Regions from separate parts of the Homo sapiens genome. Here region 2 is linked to region 1. The links are contacts of gene promoters, found by promoter capture Hi-C in blood cells and fetal thymus (Javierre and others, 2016). All regions are on one chromosome and are shown on one strand. Each heading gives the region's core, a stretch centred on a gene start or on the middle of the fragment in contact. The rest is flanking DNA. Distances are from core to core; before and after follow the strand shown.

Evidence for each region. The method cuts DNA at HindIII sites, captures the fragments that hold promoters and counts their contacts. A CHiCAGO score of 5 or more calls a contact.
Region 2: a fragment that was not itself captured here is called in contact with the fragment with the promoter of CEP20 in region 1 in 1 of 17 cell types (fetal thymus); the score reaches 9.6 in fetal thymus.

Annotation. Positions count from the first base shown.
Region 1 is chr16:15,887,279-15,889,978 of GRCh38, forward strand. It overlaps CEP20 (centrosomal protein 20), which reads right to left and starts at 1,325. Exons shown (of 5, transcript NM_144600.4): 1 at 1,280-1,325. The coding sequence starts at 1,307. The HindIII fragment of the contact is 7,894 bases long and covers 1-2,700 here.
Region 2 is chr16:19,058,949-19,061,648 of GRCh38, forward strand. TMC7 (transmembrane channel like 7) reads left to right here. Exons shown (of 16, transcript NM_024847.4): 15 at 468-546. Among named protein-coding and RNA genes, the nearest start is that of COQ7, 7.3 kb to the right of the region's middle. The HindIII fragment of the contact is 3,685 bases long and covers 1-2,700 here.

The DNA of each region.
Region 1 (2,700 bases), core at 75-2,574:
GTGAAGTCTGTTCTTGTGGACAGATGCATGCCTGTTCTGTTTTATGATTGTTCACCAGCCCTGTCCCCAAATACACACTTTTATACACGTCTCCTCCCTAAAATATCTAAGAATTACTAGTTTAAACCCTGGGTTCCCTGCAAAGTGGAACTGGTTTTATTTTTTGGACAGCAATCTTGCTCAGTGATTAAGACCTGGCGCTCCAGTGCGTCACAACTAGGTTCCCATGCTGTGTCTCTTTCCAGTGAAATCACTTTGAGCTATTTCACTTCTCAGTACCTCGTTTCCCAGTCTATGAAATGGGCATAGGGTTGTTACAATCAGGTAACACACAGGCTGAGTTGAGTAGTGCCTGACACATGAGGCTCAATGATAACTATTATTACTATTACTTGTCTGGACATTTGCTTCAAAGTAAACAGCGTACAAATGTCATTAATGACTCAAACATAACTAGCTTAGAGTATCTTTTCCTGAAAAGACAGGAGAATGGCCAGGCCAGCAAACTTTTTGCCTCTAGTTTCTTCTGATGAAAAAGGGGCCAGGCGCTCACACCTGTAATCCCAGCACTTTGAGGGGGCCAAGGCAGGAGGATAGCTTGAGACCAGGAGTTCGACAGTAAGACCCCGTGTCTACAAAAAATACAAAAATTAGCCGGGCGTAGTGAAGAGCCCCTGTATTCCCACCTGCTCTGGAAGCTGAGGTGGGAGGATAGCTGGAGTCCCGGAGTTCGAAGCTGCAGTGAGCTGTGATCGCGCTACTGCACTCCAGCCTGGGCGACAGAGAGACCCTCTCTTTAAAAAAAAAAAAAAAAAGCAAGGAGGGGAGGGCTACTTAACAGGTTGTTGTAAGGACCCAACGAGACAACCAAGCAAATTGTTTAGGGCAGTGCCTAACCCAATAGGGGTTGTGGGAATTGTAGTCATCAGCCCTGAGTGCCAAGCCTGGTCCAAGTCCTCCAGCCCCCGGCAGGGTCCAAGAAGATGAGCCAGGGGCCCAAGATGCAGGCCTGTAGGCCTCTTAGATGCCTGAAGATTACGCAACTCCTCCTTTAGCTCCAAACTGGCTTAAAACTCGCCAGTGGGCAACCTCTTCCCCATAAGAGCTCCCCGCGCACGGGCCAAGACAGCAGCCAGACGCTCCCCGCAGGCCCTCACACCGAAGAATGACGCCTGTAAAAGCCAACCCATGTGTTCCGCGCGCTCTCCTCCCATCCCATCCTTTCCACAAGATGAAGGCCCGACGCTTCCCATGTGGAGGCCTCCCTGCTCGCACTCACCAGCCTTCAACTCTGCCACAGTCGCCATTTTTCAACGGCCGCCAGGGCCGCACCGCGGCCCTGCGCACGCGCAGCTCCGCCCCACTCACCCTGCGGCGTGGTCTGTAGCCAATAGGCGCACAGCTCTCGCCCCGCCCACTTCCGCCCCTCTCAGTTTATGAGCTCTGCGGTTGAGTGGGTAGTGAATGTCGACCAGAGACTCCACCAATCAGCGAGCGCTCTCGGAAGGCCCAGTTGAGTGAGACGGCAGGGAGGGCGGGGACTGAGGCAGTGGAGAGCCCTGTGGGGTGCTGCTGGCACCTTAGTGCTTAACTTTAGCCAGCTGAGTTTTTCATTGTCTCTGCAGCCTCAAGTACCAACTGCTAGTAGTTACCACCTATTAACCCTGCGGTTCTCAAACTTGAGCATGAATCCTCATCACCTCCAAGACTTGTTTAAACGGATTGTTTGCTAGTCCTCCCCATAGAGTTTCTGATTCTGTAAATCTGGGGTGAGGCCCTAGGATTTGCATTTCTATCGAGTTCCCAGGTGGTACTGGTACTGCTGGTCGGTCTGGAGATCACACCTCGAGAACCACTGTATTAAGCACTTACTGTGACGCCTTAGCGCATTATTTCCTTATGATCACGCCGTTTTTACAATGAAGGAAACAGAGTCCTCCATCGCTGAAGAGACTTAACCAAGGTCACCAGCCTGTCCTCTTCCACTCGCACTTACACAGTGCATGTAAGGAGTCCAGGAGCTTTTTATGGAACTAACTAATGAAGGAATAAGCTCCAACATCCCATGGAAGTAAAGGAAAAGGAACAGGGGAATAATGTACCCTAAACTGAGTGTGAGGTTGCATGATTCCAGTTGTAATGCCGGTGAGATCCAAACACTTGGCTAAATAATAAACATCGATTAGACGTACACCTAAGAGTGGCCGGGCGCGGTGGCTCACGCCTGTAATCCCAGCACTTTGGGAGGCCGAGGCGGGCGGATCCCGAGGTCAGGAGATCGAGACCATCCTGGCTAACACGGTGAAACCCTGTCTCTACTAAAAATACAAAAAATTAGCCGGGCGTGCTGGCGGGCGCCTGTACTCCCAGCTACTCGGGAGGCTGAGGCAGGAGAATGGCGTGAACCCGGGAGGTGGAGCTTGCAGTGAGCCGAGATGGCACCACTGCACTCCAGCCTGGGCGACAGAGTGAGACTCCGTCTCAAAAAAAAAAAAAAAAAAGTACACCTAAGAGCTGCCAGGGCACGGTGGTTTACGCCTGGAATCCCAGCACTTTGGGAGACTGAGGTAAGGAGTTCGAGAACAGCCTGGCCAGCCTGGTGAAACCCCCTCTGTACTAAAAAAAAAGTACAAAAATTAGCCGGGCGTGGTAGCAGGAGCCTGTAATCCCAGCTACTTGGGAGGCTGAGGCACAAGAATC
Region 2 (2,700 bases), core at 69-2,568, 3.2 Mb after region 1:
CTCACTGCAACCTTTGCCTCTTGGGTTCAAGGGATTCTCCTGTCTCAGCCTCCTGAGTAGCTGGGATTATAGGCGTCCACCACCACGCCCAGCTAACTTTTGTATTTTTAGTAGAGACGGGGTTTCACCATGTTGGTCAGGCTGGTCTCAAATTCCTGACCTCAGGTGATCCGCCTGCCTCGGCCTCCCAAAGTGCTGGGATTACAGGTGTGAGCCACTGCGCCCGGCCATATTTTATTTTTCTAGAGGTGGGGCTCTCCCTATGTTGCCTGGGCTGGTCTCAAACTCCCAGCCTTAAGTGATCCTTCTGCCTGGGCAAAGCACTGGTATTATAAAATGAGCCATCATGCCCAGCCTTCTTTTCTAACAAGAGTAAAACTGTTCCAAGGAAAAATATGTTGGGTTATTTTTCTATTGGCCTTCAGATGATCCAGACTCCCTTGTGACCTGTCTGTCTTGTGTTGCAGCCTCATCATGTTTTACTTCATTGCCTTAGCTGGAGCACACAAACGGGTGGTCATCCAGCTCCGAGAGCAGCTATCCCTGGTAAGGAAGCATAGCTCCAGAGGGTCATGGCTGGGGACATTTACCCAGGACACTGCAAGGAAAGTGCTGTTTTCCTGGGAGGGAGTGAAATTACTGCAGCCTTCTCTCACCACCACCTCCCCAAAACTCTGCCTTGAGGCCCAGCCGCGTCCAGCTTCATTAATTCACTGATTCATCCATTCCTTCAAGATGTGTATTAAGGGGGATGTGGTGGCTCATGCCTGTAATCCCAGCACTTTTGGGAGGCCGAGGCAGGCAGATTACTTGAGCTCAGGAGTTCAAGACCAGCCTGGCCAACATGGTGAAACCCCGTCTCTACTAAAAATACAAAAAGTAGTTGGGCGTGGTGGTGGGCACCTGTAATCCCAGCTACTTGGGAGGCTGAGGCAGGAGAATCCCTTGAACTCAGGAGGTGGAGGTCGCAGTGAGCTGAGATTGCGCTATTGCACTCCAGCCTGGGTGACAGAGTGAGACTCCATCTTAAAAATAAAAATAAAAAAAGATGTGTATTAAGTACCTACTCTGTGCCTTGTACTATGCTGGGTGCTGGGACGCTTTGGTGAACAAGAGACAAAGCTGCTGGGTAGTTAATAAGATAAATGCTGATTAATTATAGCTTCTATGAAGACAATAAAAACAAGGTAGAGTGACAAGCGGGCTATCAGTTACTGCAGATGCGGCTGTAGAAGGCTTCTTTGAGGAGGTGATTTTTTTTTATTTTTTTATTCAGGACGGGGTCTCACTCTCTCGCCCAGGCTGGAGTGCGATTGTGTGGTCATAGCTCACAGCAGCCTCAAACTCTTGGTCTCAAGCCATCCTCCCACCTTAGCCTCCCAAGTAGCTGGGACTACAGGCGTGCATCACCATGCCTGGCTAATTTTTAAATTTTTTATAGACATGAGGTCTCCCTATGTTGCCCAGGCTGGTCTTGAACTCCTGGGCTCAAGTGATTGTCCCCTCTCAGTTCCCCAAAGTGCTGGGATTACAGGCATGAGCCACTATGCCTGGACCCTAGCTGAGACTTGAATAATAGAGAGAGGAGCCCATTATCTGAGGTCCTATTTAAGGATGAAAGTAAGAGGCAAAGAGCACAGTAAAGAAATGAGCCAGGCACTTCAGGGGGACAGGAGGGAGGGGACAGTGTGGCCACAGGGTGGTGAGTGATGGGAAGAGGCAAGGTGATATTGTAATAGCAACCAGAGTCATCAAGTCACAGTGCCTTGAGGGCTCTGTTTAGAGTTTTATTCTGAGTGGGATGGGAAGCTGCTGAAGGGTTTGTAAGAGTCTACTGTGCATTTTTTTTTTTTTTTGAGACAGAGTCTTGCTCTGTCACCCAGTCTGGAGTGCAGTGCCGCAATTTCAGCTCACTGCAACCTCCACCTCCCGGGTTCAATTGATTCTCCTTCCTCAGCCTCCCAAGTAGCTGGGATTACAGGCACCCACCATCACAACCGGCTAACTTTTGTATTTTTAGTAGAGAAGGGGTTTCACCATGATGGCCAGTCTTTTTTTTTTTTTTTTTCCTTTGAGACAGGGTCTCACTCTGTCGCCCAGGCTGGAGTGCAGTGGTGTGATCTCAGTTCACTGCAACCTCCACCTCCTGGGTTCAAGCAATTCTCCTGCCTCAGCATCCCAAGTAGATGGGATTACAGGCACCTGCCACCACGCCCGGCTAATTTTTTGTATTTTTAGTAGAGACGGGGTTTCGGGGTTTCACCTTGTTGGCCAGGCTGGTCTCGAACTCCTGACCTCAGGTGGTCCACCTGCCTCGGCCTCCCAAAGTGCTGAGATTACAGGCGTGAGCCACCTCGCCTGGCCTAATTTTTGTATTTTTAGTAGAGGTGGGGTTTCACCACGTTGGTCAGGCTGGTCTGAAACTTCTGACCTCAGGTGATCCACCTGCCTTGGCCTCCCAAAGTGCTGGGATTACAGGTGTGAGCCACCTCACCCGGCCTAATTTTTGTATTTTTAGTAGAGATGGGGTTTTACTATATTGGTCAGGCTGGTCTCAAACTTCTGACCTCAGGTGATCCACCTGCCTCGGCCTCCCAAAGTGCTGGGATTACAGGCATGAGCCACCGTGTCCAGCTGTACTGTGCATTTTTTAAAAAAAGGATCGGCTGCTTTGTGGACAAGGGGCTGTGGAGCAGACAC